Linked DNA regions of Homo sapiens: region 1 is linked to region 2. Evidence: promoter capture Hi-C in 16 types of primary human blood cells and fetal thymus (Javierre and others, 2016). All regions are on one chromosome and are shown on one strand. The core of a region is centred on a gene start or on the middle of the fragment in contact, and the rest is flanking DNA. Distances in the headings are between cores, read along the strand shown. Region 1 holds the start of SLC9A6 (solute carrier family 9 member A6). Region 2 has its middle 4.9 kb from the start of MAP7D3.

Region 1 (5,948 bases), core at 220-2,719, 270 kb before region 2:
CCAAGTACTAATAGCAGAGAATGGGCACACAGTCACTGGCTCTGATTTGGGACAGTTCCTGACCTGACAGGGACAGAAAGTGGAATTGGACATCGTTTGAGTGCTTTTTTTGTTTAGCTCATCATCCTGAGAGCTTAGAGAGCTGGTTAGTGAGGGTGAATACACACAGGGGCAGCTTGGAGTTGCCTGAGTATTACTTGTTTTAGCAAGGAGGTTATATGGCCATGAGATGGAAAGAACCATTTGAGAATCATGAGTTCCAGGCAGAATGATAGGAATTGAACTGACAGTGGTACCACTGATGGTATGAAGAATTTGAGAAGGAATTTGTACTTGCAGGGGGAACTCATTTCAAATGAGCTCATTTCAAAATATTTTTAGTTTTGAGGGTGGTAGGAGCCTCAACAGGGTATGCTCAGAATCCAACAGGTAGAGGCCTGAAGTTGGGGCAGCAGGCCAGGGCTTGAGACTTGTAGATCATTCATGTTGAAATCAAAGTCTTGAGAAAACAAAGAGCCCACACAAACTAAGGAGCGATCGGAGAAATACAGAAAAAATAGGAAGTCACTGTTCTCAAAAGACAAAGCTCCAGTATGGAGGTGAGAACTGTGAAAATTCTGGTGAGAGAGGTTGGACAGGCTGAGAACAGAAAAAAAATACTGTCCTGAGGAATACTAAAGAGGAGAGATGAGAGATAGGGGTCAAGGGTGACTTCGGAGCTGGGGACATTTGCTTTAAAACAGCAGTAAAAAGGAGCAAGAGGAGAAGGAGAAATCCACCACACCACCCAAGATTTTTTCTTCGGGAGGGAAGTGTTTACGAGCATTGGGAAATCTAAGCACAAACCGATCCAATCTTTGCTGTAAGGTTGATGAGTTTCTGTGTACAGATTCCTAGCGTGAGAGATGACTTATATCAGATGTTTACATGTAAAGAAAACCGACTACACAGACACACACATAATCCATACCTTTGAGTCGATTGTTTTATGAACTGCTACAGTGCTCTGTGTGTGTGTGGTGTTTTTTTGTGTTTTTTTTTTTTTCTTTCCCGATGAGGACAATACAAGGAGAATCCGATTTAAATTTAAATTACAGAGATGGAGATTGAGGCTCCTCCCAAGGGGACAACTTATCCTGTTAAGAGACACTGGGGGACGATATTGAGATGGGTTATGAAAGATCAATTCCTATGAAAGATCAATTCCCCTGAGAGCTCTGAGAATAGGATCAAAGTAGAAAGCGCAGTCTGCCTCTGCTTGGTTACACTGAGCCGATGTTTCTTTAGCCAAAGGCAGTGGGCTAGTTTAGACGGCCTTTCATTCCCGGCAGCGCCTGTGGGTGCGTGTGACCTGGGACAGAGGGGCAAAGGAACCTGGCAGAGCGAGCTTGGGATGCCGCGGCCCCTTTAAGAGCGGCGGCGGCGGCGCGCGCTCCGACGGCTACCCCCGGGCCCCGCCCCTTTCCCGTGAGCCCTCGGGGAGTGGTCCGACCGCGGGCGGCCGCCGGTGAGGTAGGGGCGGGAGGCGGGGGGAGACATGGCTCGGCGCGGCTGGCGGCGGGCACCCCTCCGCCGTGGCGTCGGCAGCAGTCCCCGAGCCCGCAGGCTCATGCGGCCCCTTTGGTTGCTCCTCGCAGTGGGCGTCTTTGACTGGGCAGGGGCTTCGGACGGCGGCGGCGGAGAGGCTAGAGCCATGGACGAGGAGATCGTGTCCGAGAAGCAAGCCGAGGAGAGCCACCGGCAGGACAGCGCCAACCTGCTCATCTTCATCCTGCTGCTCACCCTCACCATTCTCACAATCTGGCTCTTCAAGCACCGCCGGGCCCGCTTCCTGCACGAAACCGGCCTGGCTATGATTTATGGCAAGTTCCTCAACCCTTGTCAGCCCCTTGGCGCTGCCCCTTTCTCTGCCCGCCGGCTGCTTCGCCTCCTCTGCTGGCCCTGCTCGGCCTACGTTCGGCTCCCCTTCTAATTCCTTCCATTTTCTGCCTCGCCTTCCCCCTACCCCGCGTTTCTCTGCCTCACCCCCTTTCCTCTTCAGCCTCGCGCCCCATTTTATCTGCCTCTCCACACCTTTTTCGCTTCCGACCCCACCCCCTTTTTCCTCCGCACCCCCAGCCCCCCACCCTTTCCCTGCCTACCAAGCTCGGGACCCGGGGCTGAGGATGGAAAACGAGTGGGCGCGGTGTCTGGAATTGGGCTGGGGGCTGGGGGAGGGGAGACACCATTGCGATCCATTTCTCTGGGGTGTCAGTTTGTTTAAGGTTCATTGAAACTGCAGTAGTATCTCTACTGCCCAGAATCTGGCGTTCTTTTGGAGCCAGAGTCGACCTTTACTCAACACCTAGCTCCTGCTACGCCCTGTCCTTTCGAGGTTGCAAAGGAAAATCTTATTCTTGTGGAGTCCGAAAAAAAAAACCCGAACGTGAAATAGGCTACAGAAGGCTTAGGGCATTTTTAATGACATCCCATTTATTGTACTATGCCTCTAATATCTGATATGGATACCTGTGGTTGACCCTTCCAATTCAGGCATACAAAAGTGAGGACGAGGAAGAGTTAAGGTCCTTCCAGAAGTATAGTGTACTATACGATGATCAGGACAGTTCAGACAAACAGTAATTACAAACACCATGCATATGCAGTATGGGTGACTTGCTGTTGGCATGAGGTTATTGACCGATTGTAGAATAAATGGCTTCGATTCTTGTGTCTCAGTCTGCTTTCTGAGGTTTATTATTATTATTATTATTATTATTTTGGTGACAAGGCGAGAAGGGGTAAATCAAAGTGTGGGCTCAGAGGCATTTTGAGCTGTGCTGGGGCCTCAAGAGGAGAAAAGATACATATTGCCGACTGTATTAATCTGTGCGGGTATTGCTAAAGAGATGAGGGCGGACAAACAATTCTTTCTGTGCAGTACATGTGTGAAGATTATCTTCATTTGGAGCAGTTAAACCGATGAGCTTGTTGAGGTTTGTCTCTCAGACTTGCAGATAGGTAGATGAAGCTTTGGCACAAAAGACATTGCTCCATGCAAACCCCCGCCCCCTAGTAAATCCAGACTTCTGTAATGTGCATCTCTCAAGGATAGCAAGGAAAGGTAGTTGTGTGCCTCAGGAAGATGCATGAACTCAGGCTTATTTTTCATTTTTAAGAGAATACAGTTCTGAGCCTGCGTGTAAAATATCTCTGCTCACTAAGATTCCTAGTTTTTAGACATATTAGATGGTTTTTATATTTAATATGTTTTGCATTTCATTTGCAGTGCACCTTAAGCCAAATTGGCCAGATAAGCTATATATTTCTATATAATTTTCTGCATAACAGTGTGTGATTTATTTACTATCCTCAACAAACATTTGTTGATAAACCTTCTATGTATTATGCTCAGAAAATACAAAGAGGTATAAGATCTTTGCCTTCAAGTCACTTATAGGCAGGTCATATAAAGAAAATAATGGCATCTTAAATTTGGTTAAATGCCAAATGAGTATTATAAAGTAATGAACTGATCAGAGATACTTCTTTTATAGAGAGAGATAGTATGATGTGGTAATTAAAGGTACAAGGCTTTAGACCAGAGGTCAGCAATTTTTTTTTTTTTCTGTAAAGGGCCAGGTAGTAATGATTGTTGATCTTGTGGATACGTAGATCTCTGTCGCTGTTGCATTTTTTTTCTTTGATTTTTTTTTCTTTTTATAAAGTTTTACAACATAAAAACTATTCTTAGCTCTCGGGCCATACAAAAACAGACCAAGGGCTGTAGTTTGCCAACCCCTGCTTTAGAATCAGACCTAGATTCCCGTCACACTCTGCCCATAGGTATGTGTGATCTTAGACAAGTCCCTTACTCTCTTTTACCATCATCTATATGTTAGGGATGATGATAGTAGGATTACTGTGAGGAAGAAATGTTTTTAGACTAGTAACTGACCCTTAAGTAAATGCCCAAGAAATGATAGCTGTGCTATTATTATTATTATTGCTGTTACAACTGCATTTTCTCAGATTAGGCCCAGAACAACTCTTTTAATTGGTCAGTCTCATAAGTCAAGGGACAAATACAGTCTTTTTAAGAGAATCAAATAGGGGCTTTGAATTGCCCTGGAAATATTTTCTCTTTGGTAGCTGGTATCATTAACCTCATCTAACTCTAGGACTGAAGTAGAAAAGGATTACCGATTGCATTTTGTGAGGTTTCTAAGTTAATAAAAAGTGATAGAGCACCTTGGTGTTAGTATTTTTTGAAGGAAAAACAAGGGTATCTCTTGTGGAATGTAAAGTGCAAGAGTGTTAGTCTGGGAGTCAAATCTGGAGTTGACTTGGCGTTCTTTAGCCTGTCCTATTTTCTCATTGTGGGCAATGGGTGCTGTGGACCAAACAGCCTCCTAACTTAACTCGCAAGTCCAGTTCGAGAATAGATGGGATTGGGTCAAAGTTTCTTTCTTTCTCTCTCTTTCTTTTCTTTCTTTCTTTCTTTCTCTCTCTTTTCTTTCTTTCTTTCTTTTCTTTCTTTCTTTCTTTCTTTCTTTTCTTTCTTTCTTTCTCTCTCTTTCTTTCTCTCTCTTTCTTTCTTTCTTTTTTTGTGGAGGGTCAAAGTATTTTCAATAGCATGAAAATTGAAGTTTTCTTTTTCCTTTTTTTATTTTTGATAGAGTGTTGCTCTGTCGCCTAGGCTGGAGTGCAGTGGTGGGGTCATAGCTCACTGCAGCCTCAACCTCCTGGGCTTAAGTGATCCTCCCACCTCATCCTTCTGAGTTACTGTGACTACAGGTGTGCATCACCACACCTGGCTAATTTTTTATTTTTATTTTTGTGGTGACGCGAGTGTGGGGGGGTCTTCCCATGTTGCCCAGGCTGGTCTCAAGCTCTTAGCTCTTGGGCTCAAGCTATCCTTTCACCTTGGCCTCCCAAAGTGCTGGGATTATAAGTGTGAGCCACCTCGCCTGGTCAGAAATGGAAGTTTTCTAGTCCTATTTATTGTCTGTTATTTTTCTTATAGCTCTCACAACATCATAGCTATCTTATTATTATTAATATATTATTTTAAAACCTTTATTTTTCAGCATGACTCTGGGGTCAAAATGGGATGCCTAGACCTCTAAGATTCAGCCCACTGGTGATCTTATTCCTGTGATATTGGGTTAGCTACGTAAATCCTGGAAAATGCTATTAAAAATAAGCTTTTCCTTTATCTGAGAAGCAGGAGTAAAAACAGTTTAAATTGCCAAAGTGGTCAGTTTCTAGATTGTAATATAGATCAATTGCTCCAGTTACAAACACACAATTGCAAAGTACCCACATGTTTTGCTCCTTGGGTTAGCTTTCTTAAGAAGCTTAAAAGTGAGTCACTGTTAGTAAAAGTTGTCGAGGTAGTTAAATTAAGTCTGAAAAGTGATCACGCACTACACTGTGCTTACAGATGGTATAAAAAGCAAAATATGGCAGAAATATTTGTATTGCCTTAAGCTTAAGGCATCTGGAGTCCGAGGTTTAACCAATGTGATTCATCAATAAATATTGATTAGATGTCTATGATGTATGGGATATGATGAGAAATACATGTTTGAGCCACAGTATCTGCCCTCAAAGCACTTATCATCTAATGACTATGGCTCATACCTTATTTCTCATCATATCTTTCACAAAACTAATCTGTAGAAATTGTATCAGTTTTGGTCACACTTAATGCCCTAGTGATGTTCTTCCTATATTTTTGACTATCAGAGGCTTCAGGTGTGATTGGCTGGAATAATGGGCTGAAATCCATGAGGAAACCAGTCACTGCCAACTGGGAGAATCACACATTAGTAGGGCCTTGGGTGATGCTGATTTTTTTTATCACTGGGAGACTTTTCAGCACAGGAGGGTCAGGAATGTGTAGGAGGGTTAGGACCTCTCTGTTTTGTGAAAGATATCTCTTTGTGGTTGTGTTTTTTTTGTTT
Region 2 (6,527 bases), core at 557-3,056:
AGGCAGGAGAATCGCTTGAACCCGGGAGGTGGAGGTTGCAGTGAGCCGAGAGCTGCCACTGCACTCCAGCCTGGGCAACAGAGCGAGACTCTGTCTCGAAGAAAAAAAAAACTAGTGGCAAAAATAAACAGTTTGGCATTATAACTCCCGAAGCTCTGCTTCTAAGTAAATACAGAGACCAATGCTTTGCATGATATCCAGGATGGTAGCCATTCATGATTATTAATACGACACACATATGATTAGGGTGCCCACAAAACACACACACATACACAAACACAAGTTCAGCTTTCATGACCTTATCTGGAACTCCGCAAACAGAAAATTTAGCAAAACACATCAGCTTTGTAGTTTCTTGCAAAAATGTTGAACCCAAATCTAATAATGAAGAAACATTCAGACAGAGATAGAGACTGTGATATAGTCCACAAAATAACTGGCCCCAATGCTTCAAAATATTAGTGTCATGAAAGACTAACAACAAAAATCAGAGAAGTGTTCCAGATCACAGGAGGCTAAAGAGACCACATGCAATGTATGATCCTTGATTACAACCCTAATTTTTAAAAGAAGCTTGAAAGGGCATACGTTACTGGCATAATTAGAAAATTTGAATATGAACTGTATGGTACATGATATTGTATCAAGGTCAAATTTCTTGGGTGTGGGAATGATGTTGTAGTCACCTAGGAAAATGCACTTCTTCTTAAGAAATAAATAGTCACGCCTGTAATCCCAGCACTTTGGGAGGCTGAGGCCGGCACATTGCTTGAGCTCAGGAGTTCCAGACCAGCCTGGCCCAACATGGCGAAACACCATCTCTAGAAAAAAATAAAAACACAAGACAAAAACCCAAAAATTACCTGGGTGTAGTGGCACATGCCTGTAATTCCAGCTACTCGGGAGGCTAAGGCAAGAGAATCGCTTGAACCCAGGAGGCGGAGGTTGCAGTGAGCTGAGATTGCCTGCTGCACTCCAGCCTGGGAGACAGAATGAGACTTTGTCTCACGAACACAAAAAAAGACATAAATATTGAAGAATGTAGGGGTAAAGATTTGAGGTTTTTCCAAATAAGAAGTTAGATAATTTTTTCTTTATTTTTTGAGATGGAGTCTCACTCTATCACCCAGGCTGGAGTGCAGTGGTACAGTCCTGGCTCACTGCAACCTCCGCCTCCTGGGTTCAAGCGATTCTCCTGCCTCAGCCTCCCAAGTAGCAGGAATTACAGACCTGCACCCCCACGCCCGGCTAATTTTTGTATTTTTAGTAGAGACGGGGTTTTGCCATGTTGACCAGTCTAGTCTCCAACTCCTGAGGTCAAGTGATTCACCCTCCTTGGCATCCCAGAGTGCTGGGATTACAGATGTGAACCACTGCGCCCAGCCGAGTTTTTTTCAATCTAGAAGTTTGTCTTCAACTTATTTGTAAACACTGTCACTTTGAAAAATAAAATTTGATTGGGAATTACACATGGGGAGGCACCCTACTAGTCTTTTCAGTGTTTAGAGCCTCTAAAGGCCTCAGTCCAGCCAGGGTGTAGGAGGAAGAGGGGAGATAAGACATCCAGGAATAACCACATACAGGTGGCATGAGTAGGATTTAGGCGAGTAACTGAAACGGCTTCCAAGGGCTAAGGGATGAGAAATCAGTCCTGTTTGGAGTGATCAGAGAAGTCTTTGTGGAAGAATTAGCACTTATTCTGGGCCTGAGATGGGGACTGTGGGAACCACCTCCAAAAGCGAGTAACCACGTCTTAATTCCAGCCCATGGTCGCTGAGTGGGCAGATGGGCCCATCTGTGGCCAGATATTCCCACTTTTCAAAATAAACTCGAAATCTGGATCTTAATGTAAAATCTATTTTTAAATGATGACATTAAAAGTAAAAACAAAAACAAAAACAAACAAACAACAAAAACAAACAAACAAAAAAAACGGCTGGGTGCGGTGGCTCACACCTGTAATCCCAGCACTTTGGAAGGCCAATGCGAGCAGATCACCTGAGGTCAGGATTCCCAGACCAGCCTGGCCAACATGGTGAAGCTCCATCTCTACTAAAAAATACAAAAATTAGCTGGGCGTGGTGGCACGCGCCTGTAATCCTAGGTACTAGGAGGCGGAGGCAGGAGGATCACTTGAACCTGGGAGGCCGAGGTTGTGGTGAGCTGAGATCGTGCTATTGCACTCCAGCCTGGGCAACAAGAGCAAAACTCTGTCTCAAAAACAAACAAACAAAAAAAAGCAAATAAAAAAAGAAAAAACATGGTGCAGGGCAGTGTTCAAATTTCCAAATTGCCTCATTTAAAAAATCTTTGAATAAAAATTCAAACAAGGTCCATACATTGCATTATTTGATATGCCTTTTAATCTGTAGATATAACTTCTTTCTCTCTAACATCATTGGTAGATTACTGTGAGATTTAGTATTCATTTAGTAGGTAAATTATTCAATTAATCTTTTATTAACCACCTACTCTGTGACTAGCAGTGTGGGGACAAATACATATGGAAGGAAGCCCTGCCCTCTAGGGTCCCCAATCTCATTGACTCTAAACTAATGACTTACATCAGGGTCCCTTTAGATGTTTCCTTGGGGCTACAGAAGCTCACCAAGGAGCTCCCACGAGACTGTACATTTCTGAGAAAAAAATATTGGAACTGAAAGCTATCAGCTTGGGGACAGTGGAGTTTATTCTGGAGCCAAAACAGACTCAGAGCTGGGAAAGAACCCAGGCGGCTCCTCTCCTCTCCTCTCCTCCCCGTATTTGGAAAGCATGTGTTCCCCAGCGAGCAGAGAAGAACTGGAATCCTGCTCGCTTTTTCTTCCTTCTAGGCTATTTTTTCCCCTTAAACCTTACACCCTTGGGAAAAACATTCAGAAACCACAGTCATAACAGGTCTAGAAATTGCCACATTTGTTTCTATTAAAAGATGAAGTTTTTTAAAAAATTGAACTTACATATAATAAACATTTAGTGAGCTTACCAATCTAGCGAATTTGCATGCAAACTGCCACCACCACAGTCCTGTACTATGAGTTTTAAGCTTACCAGCCATGCGATGGCTTTTTCTCTCCATTCTTAACGACCTGTTAGATTCCTTGTCATATACACAGTTGAGACAAGGCTCTGGTTTTGTGTTCTTTCTCCTCTCGTCGCTCACTCTTGTCCTGCATCTGTTGTAGCTTGACTGTGATGCCCGGGAAGAGTGATGTTTCCTTCTGGACTCATCTCTTGCCAAATCTACTCACATTTTCCTTCCTTTTCCCACATCTGCGCTTTCTTCCCTCCTAAGTTACAGACTTACCTCGGGGGCTGGTCATGTCTCACTTGGTTGATGGCAGCCTTCTCAGCTCTGGAATTCCCACTGCAGCACTGCTCCCCCACCAACAACTGACACTTCAGTACCCCTCCTTCCTGTGGCACAGAGGACCAGGGTGACCCTGCTGTCTAATTTCAACAGGCTGCTCTGTACCATTTCCTTTTAGGTCTTCCCTGGGGTGGAGGCGCTGATTTTCATAGCCTGAGCTCACCAGGGAGGGGGCAGTGAACTTCTGAGGAGAGGAAAAAGAGGCTCCCACTGCCATTTCCCTCCAAAGTGGGAATGTAGACGAACCTCAGAGAGGAAGGGTGTGGCAGTGGGGGCAATTTGCTTGGAGTAGTACATAAGCCGAGGAAACTGCCTGGTTGATAGTAAGAGCCATCATTTGCCGGTTGCCTACTCAGTGGGAGGCCCAGTGCAAAAGGGTCGACATGGATTATTTCGTGTAATCTTCACCACAACTTTATGAGCTAGCTTCTATTCCCATCCTCATTTTACAGATGAGGAAGCAGGCCCAGGGAGGTTAACTAACCTGCCCAGATGGGAAGTCGCAGAGTTGAGATTCAAGCCCACATGTATCTGACTCCAGAGCTCGTCCGCCTTCCACTGGGCCTCCCAATTTCTTTTTCCTTTATTTTCTGAGATGGAGTCTCGCTCTGTCACCCAGGCTGGAGTGCAGTGGTGCAATCGTGGCTCACTGCAACCTGCATCTCCCGACTTCAAGCGATTGTCTTGCCTCAGCCTCCTCAGTAGCTGGGACTACATGCGTGCCCCACCACACCCAATTTTTTTTTTTTTTTTTTGGTATTTTTCATAGAGACGGGGTTTCACCATGTTGCCCAGGCTGGTCAAACTCCTTACCTCAAATGATCCACCCGCCTTGCCCTCCCAAGTTGCTGGGATTACAGGTGTGAGTCACTGTGCCTGGTTCCTCCCAATTTCCAGTTGACAAGCCCTTGGACACTATTAATTCCTCACCCTTGTCTTCCACTTCTTCCTTGATCCAATCCTCACACTCTGGCTACAGAGCCTTTTGAAAGTTACACTTTCTAATTGGTAAGGTCTCCCACAACTACATCTCCTAACATGAGTGTTGGTACAGCTGTCTGTTAAGCCTCTAATGAAATCGACTCAAACTATTGAAGAAGAAAGCATTGAAAATGGGTGTTTAGTTGATGGTTACAATAAAAGCCCAGACACTTCACCACTACAAAACTGCACTTGTACCCCTTAAAGTTATACAGATTAAAAAAAATGGGTGTTTAATGTATATCTTGCAAGGGAGATAGATATGACTCCTTTTAAGCAGGCTTCCTTCTAGAAAGGCTCAGAAGAGTCAATAAATGCTGAGTACATGGGACTGATTTCAAAATACATGTATAAAGGAAGATGTGCCACATTTATCATGCTGTGTATCCTGTAAAGAATATTTATGGAATGAATAAAAGAGAGTACTAGAAGCCCCCTGGGTACTGAAGGAGGAAGAAATGAAAATGCTTTGGATGGCCACCCCAGTGTTGAAAAGATCTAGACTTAAAATTATTAAAGGGCAAGAAAATGTCCTCATTTTTTTTTCTTGACTTCAAATAAAGTACAGCAAACATGGGCTGTGCCTCCTCATTCCAAATACAGGCCTGCAATATAAGGGAAGCTTCAGAGGATGCCAAAAAGCAGAAAGTATCAAGGGATGCCCTTTAAAGACACTTTGGAATTTCTAATAGAGCTAAAAATTGGTAAAATCCAGATAGGAAAAAATGAGAAGAAAATAGGAGTTAACATAGATTTCTGGGCCCCATTCCCAGAGTTTCTGATTCTATAAGTGTTATTATTTATATGACATCCATTCCTGAGTATACTGAACAATGTCTTGTGTGATGACAATTACTGCTGAGTATTTAATACCATTACACTTTGATAATGGAAAATATTAGAGATTCTAATACAGATCTAGTATTGTGTACATTGTGGAATATATATATGTATATATATGTATATGTATACGTATATGTGTGTGTATATATACATATATTTTTTTTAACTCAGAGCAGGCAGATGCTTTGCCCTGGGTTACATTGAAAGCCAAGGTAGCACCATGACATTACCAGCGAGCATGACAAGGCAGGGAAGCACATCACAATACAGACAGGTGGAGGTGGTGGTGTACGTCACCTATAGGGAGATGCAGCAGAGATGCCTGATGGCATTTCATATCACAATGCACTGTGCCAGAGTCTGATACAACGCACTGCATACACGATTTTCTCTTTTCCCCACAAAGGACAGTACACGCACAAAGCCAACTACATTTTAAAATGAGCTAGCTAGATGAATGAAGGAGAAGTAAAAACATCCAGATCACACACAGAAAGTGAGACACAGAAGAAACTCTTCTCCTATAAACTGAGAGAGATGTTTCCCCGGGAAAATTGGTCAGATTCAGAGTAGACCATGTCCCCTCATCCACTGCACTCAGCCCCCAGTTTTTCATGCTGCAAACTCAGATGTCTCTGTGGCAGAGGGAATGGTTTGTTGCTTTGAGTGTTGATCTAGACATCTGGAAGCTCTGTGGCTGGGAGGAATCTCATCCATACTTATGTATTGTACTTCATTAATCATCAAGTCCTATCTGGGGCTACATGGTGTTCTAAAGTCTTAGATTATAAACACTTTGAGATTCAACCTGAAGGCATTTTCACTGGTTAAAAATCTGTTCTTGCTGTGGTTCTTCTTGAGAGAATGTCCCTTTGCAAAACTCAGTTGTCAATGGGCTGATACAGTTGTGTAGCTGAAAGCCTTCACTGTAAACCTCATTGTTTTTTTCATGGCCAGTTCACAGCCCTATTTAAAGAATGTGTACTTTGGGAGAAAAAGGGCCTGAGAATATAAAGGGACCTGTGTGGGCAATCTCCAGGGCATGTGGGTCTATTGGCATGCACGCATGGGTAGCCAAGAGTCAAAGCAAGTTTTGCCAATGGATTCCCATCATCTTTGCATGCAGGTCAGGTGAAGGACTCAGCAAAAACAGAGCAAAAGTTCTGAGGCTCAGGTTAACCCAACAGCAAACACTTCAAGGCCCACAAGGAGAGTATTCAGGAAGAGACTTGAGGTAGATGAGGAGAAGAAAAAAAGTGCAGGTTATCCCTGAGGCCAATGGGTAAATAGACCATTTTCCTCTGTTCTCATGAAAGACACATACACTTGGATTTTG

The links. The method cuts DNA at HindIII sites, captures the fragments that hold promoters and counts their contacts. A CHiCAGO score of 5 or more calls a contact.
Region 1: a contact is called between the fragment with the promoter of SLC9A6 here and a fragment that was not itself captured in region 2, in 2 of 17 cell types (fetal thymus and naive B cells). The highest score is 6.7, in fetal thymus.

The regions. Positions count from the first base shown.
Region 1 is chrX:135,983,966-135,989,913 of GRCh38, forward strand. SLC9A6 (solute carrier family 9 member A6) reads left to right here and starts at 1,470. Exons shown (of 18, transcript NM_001379110.1): 1 at 1,470-1,512; 2 at 1,638-1,862. The coding sequence starts at 1,694. RefSeq lists a silencer at 1,361-1,600 and an enhancer at 1,751-1,870. The HindIII fragment of the contact is 4,728 bases long and covers 1-3,008 here.
Region 2 is chrX:136,253,000-136,259,526 of GRCh38, forward strand. It overlaps a transcript of MAP7D3 not described here. Among named protein-coding and RNA genes, the nearest start is that of MAP7D3, 4.9 kb to the left of the region's middle. The HindIII fragment of the contact is 2,470 bases long and covers 572-3,041 here.